Regions from separate parts of the Homo sapiens genome. Here regions 1, 3, 4 and 5 are each linked to region 2. Evidence: promoter capture Hi-C in 16 types of primary human blood cells and fetal thymus (Javierre and others, 2016). All regions are on one chromosome and are shown on one strand. The core of a region is centred on a gene start or on the middle of the fragment in contact, and the rest is flanking DNA. Distances in the headings are between cores, read along the strand shown. Region 1 has its middle 68 kb from the start of CSRNP3. Region 2 holds the start of GALNT3 (polypeptide N-acetylgalactosaminyltransferase 3). Region 3 has its middle 45 kb from the start of CSRNP3. Region 4 overlaps SCN2A (sodium voltage-gated channel alpha subunit 2). Region 5 overlaps SCN2A (sodium voltage-gated channel alpha subunit 2).

What was found. The method cuts DNA at HindIII sites, captures the fragments that hold promoters and counts their contacts. A CHiCAGO score of 5 or more calls a contact.
Region 1: a contact is called between a fragment that was not itself captured here and the fragment with the promoter of GALNT3 in region 2, in 12 of 17 cell types (naive B cells, monocytes, total B cells and 9 more). The highest score is 8.8, in naive B cells.
Region 3: a fragment that was not itself captured here is called in contact with the fragment with the promoter of GALNT3 in region 2 in 1 of 17 cell types (erythroblasts); the score reaches 5.0 in erythroblasts.
Region 4: a contact is called between a fragment that was not itself captured here and the fragment with the promoter of GALNT3 in region 2, in 2 of 17 cell types (endothelial precursors and megakaryocytes). The highest score is 6.1, in endothelial precursors.
Region 5: a contact is called between a fragment that was not itself captured here and the fragment with the promoter of GALNT3 in region 2, in 1 of 17 cell types (non-activated CD4 T cells). The highest score is 5.0, in non-activated CD4 T cells.

Annotation. Positions count from the first base shown.
Region 1 is chr2:165,400,479-165,403,178 of GRCh38, forward strand. No RefSeq gene overlaps it. Among named protein-coding and RNA genes, the nearest start is that of CSRNP3, 68 kb to the right of the region's middle. The HindIII fragment of the contact is 1,052 bases long and covers 872-1,923 here.
Region 2 is chr2:165,792,798-165,795,497 of GRCh38, forward strand. GALNT3 (polypeptide N-acetylgalactosaminyltransferase 3) reads right to left here and starts at 1,450. Exons shown (of 11, transcript NM_004482.4): 1 at 1,218-1,450. LOC124906086 reads left to right here and starts at 789. Exons shown (of 6, transcript XM_047446887.1): 1 at 789-995; 2 at 1,122-1,540; 3 at 2,003-2,282. The coding sequence starts at 789. RefSeq lists enhancers at 200-1,106, 1,107-2,012 and silencers at 1,083-1,172, 1,243-1,392. The HindIII fragment of the contact is 5,078 bases long and covers 385-2,700 here.
Region 3 is chr2:165,423,323-165,426,022 of GRCh38, forward strand. No RefSeq gene overlaps it. Among named protein-coding and RNA genes, the nearest start is that of CSRNP3, 45 kb to the right of the region's middle. RefSeq lists an enhancer at 1-297. The HindIII fragment of the contact is 3,027 bases long and covers 1-2,700 here.
Region 4 is chr2:165,377,161-165,379,860 of GRCh38, forward strand. SCN2A (sodium voltage-gated channel alpha subunit 2) reads left to right here. Exons shown (of 27, transcript NM_001040142.2): 23 at 437-490. Among named protein-coding and RNA genes, the nearest start is that of CSRNP3, 91 kb to the right of the region's middle. The HindIII fragment of the contact is 1,890 bases long and covers 320-2,209 here.
Region 5 is chr2:165,350,779-165,353,478 of GRCh38, forward strand. All of the region lies in intron 16 of SCN2A (sodium voltage-gated channel alpha subunit 2), which reads left to right. Among named protein-coding and RNA genes, the nearest start is that of SCN2A, 110 kb to the left of the region's middle. The HindIII fragment of the contact is 1,009 bases long and covers 807-1,815 here.

The DNA of each region.
Region 1 (2,700 bases), core at 148-2,647, 390 kb before region 2:
TAACTATTGTCATTTTTTTCAATACTAACCAGCACCTTTTGACAAACCTGCCAATATTTTAGAAAACCATATTTTGATGTACCTGATTGCCCTTTTTTGACAGTTCCTCAAAAAGTTTAACACAGAATTATCCTATGACCCAGGAATTCTACTCCTAGGTATACACCCAAGAAAAATGGAAACATATGTCTAATATAATCCTGTACACAAATATTTATAACAACATTACTCATAATAGAAAAAAAGATGGAAATAACCAAGTGCCCAGCAATGGATGAATAAACAATTGTGGTATATTCATATGACTTATTCAATCATAAAAGAAATGAAGTATTGATACATGCTACAATTTGGATGAATCTCAAAGACATTATGAGAGGTGTAAAAAGCCACACACAAGAAATCACATATTATGTGATTACTCTTATATACCCAGAATGGGCAAATCAATAGAGATAGAAAGTAGGTTAGGCTGGGCGTAGTGGCTCACACCTGTAATCCTAGCACTTTTGGAAGGCCAGGTGGGGAGGGTTGCCTGAGCTCAAGAGTTCCAGACAAGTCTGGGCAATATGGCAAAACTCCATCTCTACAAAAATTAGCCAGTTATAGTGGTGGGGGCCTGTGGTTCCAGCTACTTGGGAGGCTGTGGCGGGAGGATTCCTTGAGCCCAGGAGGTTGAGACTTCAATGAGCCTTGTTCCTGCCACTACACTCCAGCCTGGGCAACAGACCAAGACCCTGTCTCAAAAAATAAATAAATAAAATAAAAATAGATTAAAGGTTACTGGGGGTGGGAGGACAGCCGAATAGGAAGTGCTTACTTAATGGTTATGGGATTTTTTCTGGAGTAATAAAAACGTGAAACTACAGAAAGCTTGTACTTGCACATGTGGCTACAATAAATACTAATGAATTGTACACTTTAAAATGGTTATGTTATTTGAATTTCACACAAAGGTAGTTATGTGGGAAAAGTAAGTTATTATTGCAACCCTATCCACTAGAGGGCGATGCTTCCATTAAGAAACATGACTCGTAAATTCGGCTGGTGGAAGAAGGGCAGTTAGCCTTGCAAATACATTTTCTGCTTATTTTGCAACTATTTTAGGTGTAAAACAATTAAAGTAAATATCCACTTTGGAAACATTGCTGGAAAAATAATGTTTACATTTGAATGTGTCTCTTCAAGAAAAAACAGTTTGTGAAGCATTTGTACTGAGAAAAGATTTCTTTCCTTGGGCATAGATCTCATAGTGCAAAAATTAAACAAACATGAGCAAATTATGAACCTAAAGACATGGTTAATGGAAAGGATCTCAGCGACTAACATAAAACTGAATGAGCAAAGTGTTGAAGTATTCATATCAATAGAGAGTTTCAAGTAACTTTATCACTATAAGTACTTGAGAGTCTTGAAAGTGTTTATCCACATTTTCATGAGCACGGCAAAATTTGGTTGTCTAACTCAGCACGTGTCTTAAATTCTGTCTCTAATTCAGAAATAATTCATCACTTAGTAAAGCTACATTTCTTGAAGGTGCATCAGGAATAAAATAATTAACTCATCATATACCAGAGATCCTGTGGCCAAGGGTTTTAAGAGAGTAACACAGGAAGTGTCGTGCATGCTCATGTGTGGAACACTTATTTTCAGCTCCAAATTCACACAATAAGTTATTCTCCCTACAAAGGGAATGTGTTTCTGCCACTGTTCACAACAAAATTGCAAATGTAACAGAAAAATTAGCCAAGGAAAACATAGTCCCTAAAGTAAATCTGATCCAAAACAATCTGATTAAATCCATAGAATTATAGCATTGTAAAGTCATTCTTGGGTTATTTATAAAGTCAGCAGTCAGCATTTCCCAAGGCATACTAATAGGAAGCAAATCCTTGCTCAGGAGCCAGCTGATAAAGACTATAAAGCTTATCCTCGGAGCAAAACCAGAATGATGTCACTACTAAGTCCTCCATAAAATAAGAAGCAGGCGTTTTAGTGCAGGTAGTTTGGGGCAAGAATCAATACGTGGCTTGGGAAGAGAGTCCAAAAATCCAGAAACATAAGCTTAATCCTAGGCTTTTCTTTAGAAAGGTTTGGATGTATACCAGAACCTACTTTGTAGTCAATATAAGAAATCATATACTGTATATATTTTCTAAGGTGTCTCAGTTTATTCATTTTAAAAACAAACAAATGGATATCCTTTTGTCATCTTTATGACATAATCTTCAGATATTGTTATTTATTATAGCATACTGGTTTTCAATTGTTAAATAACCACACATGCAGAGGCCCAGACAACACATCCAGTATTTATTATCCTACAGTTTCTTTGGGTCAGGAGTCTGGGTACAGCTTACCCGGGCCCTCTTCTCAGTCTCACAAGGCTGCAATCACAATGTCAGCCAGGACTGGAAGCTCATCTGAACCTTGGAGTTCTCTTCCAAGTTTAAGCAGCTGATGGTAAAATTCGTTTCCATCAGCTTTAGAACCCATGGCAGTTAGTTTCTTCAAGACCCAGGAGAGTTTCACTGCATCAAGTCTTTGAGCTCAGGGAAGACCTAAACCCTCTTTTAAAAGGCTTATTTGATTTGGTCAGGCTATCCAGTATAATCTCCTTTAGACTGACTCAAAATCAAACTGTTTCAGCACCTTAATTACATTTGCAAAATCCCTTCACTTTTGTCGTATTCTATCAGC
Region 2 (2,700 bases), core at 200-2,699:
ATCTAATGGCAGCGTGTGACTTTAACCTCATGGATTTTAGCCACAAACGCAAAGAAAAATATATACAATAAAAGAAGCAACAGATTTTCCCACAAGCAGAGATTTTCTAATTAAAATGCTGTCACTTTAATATTTTTTAGCTATAGAATTTGACTGTAAATGTCTTCATTATGTAGTGTAACTTCTATAGCAAGTTATGTTAACGTTTTCAAGAATCGGAAATATTGGTAACTCGATGGGGTTCTTAAAACAGAAATAGTTTCTTTGATGAGTTGGAAAGAGAAGGAAATAAAAGTCTAAGGTAAGCGCCAGTTTCACCCTCAATTCTTAGGCTTCAGAAAAGCCTAATTAGGCAGGGAAAGGAATCTGGGCCTGGCACACCCAAGCTTAGACGTGGCAGGATCCTGAAACAATGTTTTTTTGAACCTTTGAGTCATATGCCACAGGCAAACCATAGCCGCGATATGCAGGTCCTTAAGTCAACAGGTCCTCTAACGAGATGGTGAGTGGTTGGTGCGTGGCAGTTGGATTTCTTCCCGCCACGGAAGAAAAGAACTCTTCTCCATTGATCAGGAAAGTGGGCCCAACTCTGGCCTGGAGAGCGCACCCGGAAAAGTGCAGAGTCGAAACAGAGAGAGAGGGGTGTCCGCGTCCCGGCCACAGAGCCCTTTCCAAACCACTCGGAAACCATTTAAATGGCTCGGCGGCCGCGGTTTGCAGCCTAGAACTGTTTGGGGTCCCCGGCTAGGAAAGTTGCCTGGCAAAGCCATGTCTTTCGCTGTCGCGGGATGTCCTCTCGGGCAGAGAGGCTGGAGGAGACAGGCAACCTGCTAGCCGGAGTGGAAGCGCGCCCGCCTCCCGCCGGGCCCTCCCTCTCAGGGTCCCCACGCTGCGACCCTCCCAAGGGCAAGTCCGGGGCCACCAGGTCTTTGGTCTCCGTCCAGCTCCTCAGGGGCCGCCCCATAGGGACTGGCGGGGGCACCGTGGGCGAGAGGGTGTGACCGGGCTCCCCCCCGAGGCGCCACCTGCCCCTTGGCCCAGGGCGCCCCTTTCGGGATCTCTCCAGGGGCAACCGACACACTGCTCTCGAGACCGTCTCCAACCGGCCACCTGGACCGTAGCCCTGTCCCCAACACGTGAACCCCTGCGGCCGTCCTCCCGCCTGCTCTAACGCAGCCCAGGGGTACCGCGTCTCCCTCCGCCTGCCGCCGGCTTACCTGGCGGGTGGGCAGGGCAGGGTGGCGGGAAGCGGCGGCCGGGCAGGCGCTGGACGTGGGCTAGGCGCCAGGTGCAGGTGGCGGCGGCTGCGACTCCGGTTGCTGTCGCCACAGTTGCGGCTCAGTAGAGCTCCTCCTCCGCCGCCGCCTCCTGCCTTCCCGCTGGGCCTCCCGCGTTGCCTGGAGAGGCAGAACCGAGGCTCGGCTTCCACTTGGAGTCTCCCAGGTGAGCTCCAGCCTGCGACGTCGGCAGGGGCGAGGCCCCACTTCCGCGCCTGCGCGCCAGCCTCCCGCCCCGCCCCAGCCCTACCTGAGCGCTCCAGGTGAGAACCTTGGATCGCGCGCGCAGGGTGGGGGCGCCGTCCGGGCCAAGCCTGGCTGTCGCGCGGCTTCTCTCTGAGTGGTCGGCGAGGCTGCTGCTCCGCGCAAGTTGTGGCTCCCGGCCCATCTACATTGGAGGAATCCTGCACTGACCTGGTGGCAGTGATCACCTTGTAGCCAGAACACAGTCTGCTGGGTCCTTGGGGAACCAGAAGTTCTAGATTTCCCCCACACGGTTCCTCCCTTCCTCCTCGGTTCGCCAAAATGAAGGGGTGCGCTGCCTCCGAGGACCACTTCGGGAGGGCAGCAACTGCTGGCTCATGTGGTTTCTTCGGGCAGGGTTCAGCAGCTTCTGTCACCAGTTAGGTTTCGTGAGCTTCCTTCCCGTGTAGTCTTGATTTCATCACTTGACTCACTTCAGCGCAGCTAGTGGTTTCCGTTTCTGTACGCGGGCGCTCTGGTAGGGGCGCCTCACGTCCAAAGGAGGAGTCTTCTTCCAAAGAAGAGCCTTTGGTATTTGGCAGAGCCTCGCCAATTTGGGGCGCACCTCCCCTTCCTGGGATGCTCTCAGAAGGCAAACCAATTCCCAGAAGAGAGGGAAAAACAGCCACAACAGAGAGAACCTTTGCTGTCCCTGTTTGGAAAGAGATTGGGATTTCCTGGAGAGGGCTTGCTTCTACTGCAGGTTTGTTTAAAAGCTCAACATCTATTCTGGAAGAGAACAACGCAGACTCCAGGAAGATGGTGGGTTTTGCTGTTTTTAAGACAAAAAAAAATTGTTAAACAGTATTTGTTCCATTTATGACACAACTTTCTGTTTCAGCCTTCCTTCTGCTGCTGCAACAAACATTGACACACCCAAAACCAGGACTTAAAATGGCCTTTATACCTTTCTATGAACTCATTTCTTTGGCCCTATCCCAAAGATATCTAGGGATATAAATAGAAAACTAGCTAAAAACTTTTTGGTGTCGTGTTTAATCACATGGTGGTAGGTTTTACTATGAAGTTTAGTTGTGGCCTTCCTCCTACATTTTGACATGCTCTTATGGTGCTTATTCACTGTTTTATTAGTGCTATGCGTGACCTAAAAATAAGGTTTAAAATACAGTTTAGTATAGTATCAACAAGTGTATCTTTAGTATTTGACTACTCTAAGACA
Region 3 (2,700 bases), core at 40-2,539, 370 kb before region 2:
GGCCATTTCCTTTCTGTTGTCTTAGCTATCAGTACTTGGCTTCCTTTTAGTTATGCAAATTTCTGCAGCCTGCTTGAATTTCTCCACAGAAAATCGGCTTTTCTTTTCTACCACATGGCCGGGCTGCAAATTTTCCAAACTTTTATTCTCTGCTTCTTTTTTAAATATAAGTTGCCAGTTTCAAGACATTTCTTTGCTCACACATATGAGATAAGGCTGTTAGAAGCAGGCAGGCTACATCTCGAACACTTCACTGCTTTCATATTTCTTCCACCACATACCCTAAATCACCACTCTCAAGTTTAAAGTTCCACAGATCCCTAGAACAGGGACACCATGCACCCAACCTCTTTGCTAATGCATAACAAAAGTGACCTTTGCTCCAATTCCCAATAAGTTTCTCATTTCCATCTGAGACCTCCTCAGCCTGGACTTCATTGTATATACCACTATAAGCATTTTGGTCACAATAATTTAACAAGCCTCTAGGAAGTTCCAAATTTTACCTCATCTTCCTATCTTCTGAGCCCTCCACACTGTTCCAACCTCTGCCTGTTACACAGGTCCAAAACTACTTCCACCTTTTCAAGTATCTTTGAAGCAATGTCCCACTTCTTGGTACCAATTTTCTGTATTACTCCATCCTTGTATTGCTATAAAGAAATAACAGAAGCTGAGTAATTTTTAAAGAAAAGAGGTTTAGTTGGCGTATGATTATACAGGCTGTACAGGAAATATGATAGCCTCTACTTGGTTTCTGAGGAGGCCTCAGGAGACCTATAATCATAGTGGAAGGTGAAGGGAGAAGCAGGAATGTCTTACGTGGCTGGAGCAGGAAAGAGAGCATGGGGGTTGCAGGGGTAGGCACTACACACTTTAAAGCAACCAGATCTCACAAGAACTCCCTCATTCACTATCACAAGAACAGCAGTAAGGGCATGGTGCTAACCCGTTCGTGAGAACTCCATCTCTGTGATCCAATCACCTCCCACCAGGCCTCACATCCAACACAGGGGATTACAATTCAACATGAGATTTGGTGGGGACACAGATCCAAACCATATTATAAATCTAATAAGAAGTTAGCCAAAAACAGTAGAAATTTTGAAGAATATACAAGTATTATTTAATTTATCCTTTTTATTTTCCAGTTTATATATGCTTTATAATATACACAATATAGTAGTATATTAGTAGACTATAATTAAGTAGATGTGTGTAATATGAATGTGTTTAGTAGTTAACTGATATTGTTTATAATGAAGCAACTTCTAAGCCATTAGTCTATAAGTTTTATGAGCTTGTTTGTTCATATTTATCACTTAGTACCTAGCAATTAAGTCATGTACAGAATCTCTCAAAGCCAGGCCAGATGCTGTTTTCTTTATTGTATACCACAATTCTAAAGACCCCTGTTTTTTGGAATAGAGTAGATTAGTATAATAGTCAATTCAGCCGAAGTAGTTAGTATGCAGATATTGTGATAGAATTAGTGTGCTCATTGTATACAATGCATCATGCCATGGCCAAGCAGTGTGCCAGGGCAGAAATAACACTATGTGACTGAGAGCTGAGAGCTGTAAGGGAGTGAAAGAGCAGGCATATAAGAAAAATGCAAGAATGCAGAAATTAATGCATTATTATGGAACTAGTTATTTCTTGTCCTTCATGGCCAACTTGATAATAGGAGGATATAATTAGGCAGCTGGTTATGATGGAATTGTGAGAGGTCACCTATACGCAAGCTGAAGGGTCAGAATGAACATTGATAGTTGAGGTGCAAAAAACTATTTTAGGGAGGATCCGTAAAGCTGAAATCCTAAAGAAAAATTGAGTCAGAAAACAAAATGGATAACTGACTAGCAGAGACAAAAGCAGATGTAGAATCCAGGGTTGGAGCTAAATAGGTAATCAGAACTAAGAAGTCAGATACTGACTTGTATGGAAGCATGAGGGCAGCTCTTGTTATTTTGGTTAAGCTGTTAGTCTCAGAGAATTTTCACTGGCCCAGTTGCAAATAATATATAAGTTAGATTTTTAAGAAACATGGTTAAACCACATTCTTCTTCCTGACATCTTTTGAATTGCCATAATCTTACTAAAATAGAATTCAGGTTAAAGCAGTATGGTAACAAATATATACAGTTATAGGTAAAGATTTGCTGTTATTAAAAGAATAAAATATTTAGGCTATTTTCAAAGATCTCCGATAAAATGTTCCCAAACTGCTTTTCTGGACTTATTATTTATTTTATGTTTCAAAATACTTTGGAGTCAAGCCACTCCTGACTAGAAGTATTTATTCATGCAAAACATGCATATTCAGGTGTCTATATTTCAGTGCCTATGCGTTTGATCTCTGTAGTATAATAAAGAATTTGGCTGGTCTCCATCCCCAGTTTATGAGAAGTAGCCTCAAAATCCTTGGAATTTCCTGAGTGACAGGAGTGTTTATGGTATTCATGGTAGACCTTGTTTATACTAGTGAGGTAACTCATGGTGGACTCTACATGTTTTATACTAATGAGATGACTCGGGACAGGTACTGGCAACACCAGAAAGACCAACCATGTGATGAGAGGATTGGGACTTTGATATTAGCTCAATATCTGGGGAGCATAAAGGGGTCAGAGATTTGGTTTAATCACATGGACAGTGATTCAATCAATCTTGCCTATGTGATGATACTCCAACAAAAAC
Region 4 (2,700 bases), core at 15-2,514, 420 kb before region 2:
TGATTGGTGTAATAATCATTTAGAAAAGAATAAGTAGAAAGGAAGCATTAAGATAAATAATGCAGCATACTTTTGAGCTTGTCTCATGCTGCTACTATACACATGAAATTTTTTCATCAAAGTTCATGATATATTTTTATATAAACACATCAGAGTCAAAGATTGTTCATATTGTTTTTATGATAGCATATTGTTACAGTAGATCATTATTTAATTATATATGCTAAATATCCACATAAGATGTTATAGAGGAATATAAATTTGAAGTATTTTCAATGCATATCGCAAAACATTGCCCCAAAAGTGAATACAAATTTCAAGCTTATTTATATGCCTGTATTGAATACATGTCAAATAGAATTTTGATCAATTATTCAATTTATTTTCTAAAATTATAATTTTGGGAAAAAAGAAAATGATATGACTTTTCTTACAGGCCACGTTTAAGGGATGGATGGATATTATGTATGCAGCTGTTGATTCACGAAATGTAAGTCTAGTTAGAGGGAAATTGTTTAGTTTGATTAAATGTATATTTCTACAATATTGTAATTTAGTGATATTGTCAATAAAATAAAATTATGTGCTTAATTTATAAAACCCATCTATATTATAAGGATAAAATATTTAATCATACTATTTCTTTCAAAATTATCATAGGATGATTTTCTCTAATCACTCTGTATCTTTTAACATATCTTTTCTAGTATTTAGCAAGGCACCTGACACAAAACTTTATTGTATGTATTTTCAAAATGAGACATTTTATTTTTGGCTCTGATAGTCCTGGTCATTTGTGCATTAGAAGTTCTCACAGGCAATATTTTTTATCTGTAATATATTTCCTCCAGCTTTTGATCTTCCTTATAATAGGAAGGATATGACTAAAAACGGGGACAAAAATAAACAATTTAGTGTTTCTCTTGGGAAAGTGAGATTAAGTGGTAGAAGGGAGGGACTTCCCTAATCTACTTTATACATACCAGTACTTTGAATTCTTTTCTATAATTTTCATTAATTTCTCACTATTTAATGAGGAATGAAGTCACATTTTGAAAAAAAAAAAAAAAGAGATTGATTTCTGGTATGCCAGAGCATGATAATAAAGCTCAAAATGCTCTTTCCCTAGCACCAGCAGCTAGCTTTCTGAGTGAAGAATTCCTGAGGTTTTTTTTTTTCTTTTTTCCACTTCATAAAAACAGAGAGGGAGCAAGAAAGCATGAAAAGCCCTGCATTGTATCTCTATAAGTGCTATCAGGAATTCCAGTTATGAGATTTTTCTGAATAGTAATAATAATTTATTGATTATCACTATTCACTGTGCCAAGGACTTTCTCACATTATCCCATTTAATCCTAAATGACAACCTTATTGTATAGGTGATACTAGCTCTATTTTACTACTGAAGCAAAGAGGCTTAATGCGTTAAATGGGAAAACAAGTTTTTGAACCCTGACCACAAATAATGGCTCATACCCACTTTCCACAGTGGTTCTTACCTTTTTGATTAATTAATTCAATGCTCTCTCCACCTTCCTTATCAATAGCTTATATGCCATGAAACATTTTCAGTTTCTTCTTTAATAACTTAGCAGACCTTTTCCGCTGCAAAACTCCTGGAATTTCCAGCACATTACAAAAGATGAAAGCCAATTGAGCACTACATTTATGAAAAGTTGCTGGATCTTGAACTTTAATTAGTAAATTGCATCAGATAAATGCAAATTTAAACCAAAATAAAACATTATCTACACACCTACCAGATTGGCAATACCAAAAAGTCTGACAATACCAAGTTTTACCAAGGATAAACAGCAATAAGAACACTCGTACAATGCTGATAGGAAAAAAAATAGTTAAATAATCCTTTAAAAACAGTTGGGTATGATCACATTATTTGAGAAAGTTAAAGATATTTTTTAATACTGCAATTCTACTTTGAACAACGTATCCTAAAGAAACTTATGCACATGTTTAGGATAATCTATGTACAAAAATGAATATAACTTTTTTTTGCACTTGCAAAAAACTGGGAGCAACTCAAAAACAGTAGAAATAGGCAAATAATTGAATACTATATAGTGATGAAAATGAATGAATACCGCCATATACAACCACATGGATGAGCCTTAAAAATACAACATTGAGTTAAAGAAACTAGACACATACTATAATTCTACTTATATAAAGTTCGAAATTGACAAAACTAAGCTTATTGTTCAAAACTGCATACTGAGGTGTTAACTTGAAAGAAAAAGCAGGGACATCATTACCATAAAAGTCAGGATAATGATTACCTCCAGCAGGGATGATGGAGTTTATGTTTGAGAAGGGTACACCAAGGGTTTCTGAAGTTGTAGCAATGTCCTGGGTTATGGATTTCACTTATAAAACATATTATATTTTGCATTTATGTATTATGCACTTTCCTGTATGTATATTGTCTTTTAAAAATTTTAAAAATATAATTTTACATCACTGTTAACTAAACTCACATACACAAATAAAATCTCATCGAAGAATAGCAGTTTTACAATATTCCTGATATTTTCCATTTTGCTGTATTTCCTTAGAAACAAAATTATGCTGGTCATAATCCTCTAAATTGATTTCATAACACAGTGGGTTATAACTTGCATCTATTATCATCATCAGGGATTGGTTAACTGAGTTGGTTAGAACAATGTCCTATTAGACCTG
Region 5 (2,700 bases), core at 61-2,560, 440 kb before region 2:
TCTTAAATTGTCATGGATCACACCAAACACCTGTGCCAGCTGTTATGCGCATACCCTTCGGTAACAAAGGAAGTCCAGAAAAAGAGAATAACTTGACTCACACAAATATTTCTAGGGAAATAAGGTAAATAAAAAGATAGTGTTGTGGAGGATAAGTTGGATAATAGTAAGTGATAACAGCTAAACTTTCTCAAAGGTTCACTATGTGCCAAGAACTGTGCTGAAAGCCACATGAATTCTGTCACTGAATCCTTTCAACAACCTTGTAAGCTGGGCACTAGAAAAACGATTACATTTATTTTATAGATGAGGAAACTGAGGCTCAGATTGGTTATGCTACTTAGTAGGTAACAGAAAATCGATTCTTACCTAGCACTCGAATTCTAAAATATGTGCTCCTCTATGTCAAGTAATCTATAGAACTAAGATAAACATGCTGATGAAAGTTAGTGTCTAGTGGGTATTAATAAACGCGGTTTCAAAACTGTGTCACCACGGGTAGATTGGCTGCTTTAAAAAAAATAAAAACTTCAATGGATTTATGAGAAAGAAAAGTCATATGTTCCAGGGATATTTATTTATTTTCCTGACAGTGGAATAGCATTGAATTGAGTTATCAATTCATAAAAGATCAGAGAAACAATTCGAAAATTAATAGTAAACCCTATTATACTGACTAAATATGGTAGCAGTTCAAAGAAAGGAAGTATCGGTAAGAGTAAACATGGAATACTGTTTCCTCACTTATTCTGCAAACATCACAATTAGGAGAAAAGACCTTGTAGTTAGACTTTCAAAAAAAAAAAAGCTTCTCTACTTATTAACTGTGGTCTTGGACAAGTCATGTAAGTTGTGCAGAAGCATTTTCATCTGTAAAATAGTAATAATTCCTGCCTTATAGAGTTGTGAGAAATAAATCACATAAACCTTGAAAATGCTTTGCACAATAACTGGTATTTACTAAGAGCTCAACTAAAAAGCTGGTTTTACTTTTATTGTTATTATGATCTGGTATTGATACTGCTCTAGGACTTGGCTCTAAGGCATGTTTCTGACCAAAAGATCTCCCAATCTATCAGTAAAGCTGTGCTTGTTTTTTTTTTTTTTTTAAAGAATCCAATATAATGTGATAGGGATGTGGATGAGAAATTTAACAGGACAGAATGAGAAATGGGAGCAGGCTATATAAATGTCACAGTAAATGACATTTGTAAATAGAGTATTTGTCCAGTACAGAGGCAATATAATTGGCTCCCGCCCTGGGGAAGGATTGATGGATGTGTATCAAGAAAAATTTCCAAATAGACAAATGACAGAACTTTAATATACTTTAGGAAAATAAGTCTAGGAAATAGCACCAAAATAGATAAAATAAAAATTTTACATGCAATTTTTTCTTCCTTTGTCTGTTTTTTTAATCCAAATAATAAGTTCAAAAGCAAATTACAATAAAACATAATTTTATTGGTAAATTCCAGAGGCAAAGGAGCAGGTCTGGTCTTAATGTGATTATCAGGAGTCATAGTATAGAGACTGACAGATTGTCAGTACACTCTCAAAATCAAACGTGGTCTTCATTGGATCTTACATATTTTTACTTTAAAAAAAATCACCATTGGTTAGACTAACTTACAACTAATTAGACAAAGGTGCTGTAAGCCTCATTAGCATGATAGAAGCATGAGAATATAGCAAGAATGTAGAATCCTTTTTATTGAAGTTTTACTTAAAAATTTTCCTAAGATTCTACTTTTGTACTACAGTTTGAGCATCCCTAATCTGAAAATTTGAAATCCAAAATGCTCGGAAGTTCAAAGCTTTTGAGCACCAACCTGATACTACAAGAGGAAAATTCACATCTGGCCTCCTGTAATGAATCGCAGTTAAACCACAGTCAAAATGTTGTTTCCTGAACTAAATTATTAAAAATATTGTATAATATTACCTTCAGGCTATGTGTATGTGTATGAAACTTAAATGAATTTTATGTTTACACATGTGTCTCATTCTCAAGACTTGTCATTATGTACATGCAAATATTTTAAAATCTAAAATCCAAAACACTTCTGGCCCCAAGCATTTCAAATAAGGGATATGCAACTTGTATTTACTTTGTGCATTTGCCCCCCTTTACTGCTATATCTTTCTTTTGTTCTGTATGTTATGTGTGCTTAAATAATCAGGAATTCATTGATATTGTCAATCAAATCCTGAAAAAAAATTATATGACTCAGTCTTGTACCCCTGAGAATGTCTGATTTCTTCGTAAGTTGTCTTTTTTTTTTTTTCCACAATAGTGAGTTTAATGTCATGAATCTTTTCACTCATTCATACTGGTGGAGCCTATTTTTAAAGACCCAATTTGCAGACTGATTACTGTCCTTATTCATGGCAATACTTCAACTCCACAATCTTTAATTCAACAATAACATCATAATTATTGTATAATAACCATTTTATAGTATTTCTCACTATTGTATAATTATAGTAGCCATAATTGTCTTAATAAAAATTGGGACTTTTCATCCAGCAATAAATACGTTTTTGTCTGATTTGTCCAGTTATCTAGGTACAAAAAATGGTACAAAGGCACAAAAATAAAATCATATTTAAATATATTGGGATAATTGTTGATTTTAGGAATAAATTATCAGTGTTTCCGGAAATCCAAATTACATAGTCAAAATAGCATCTGTATTA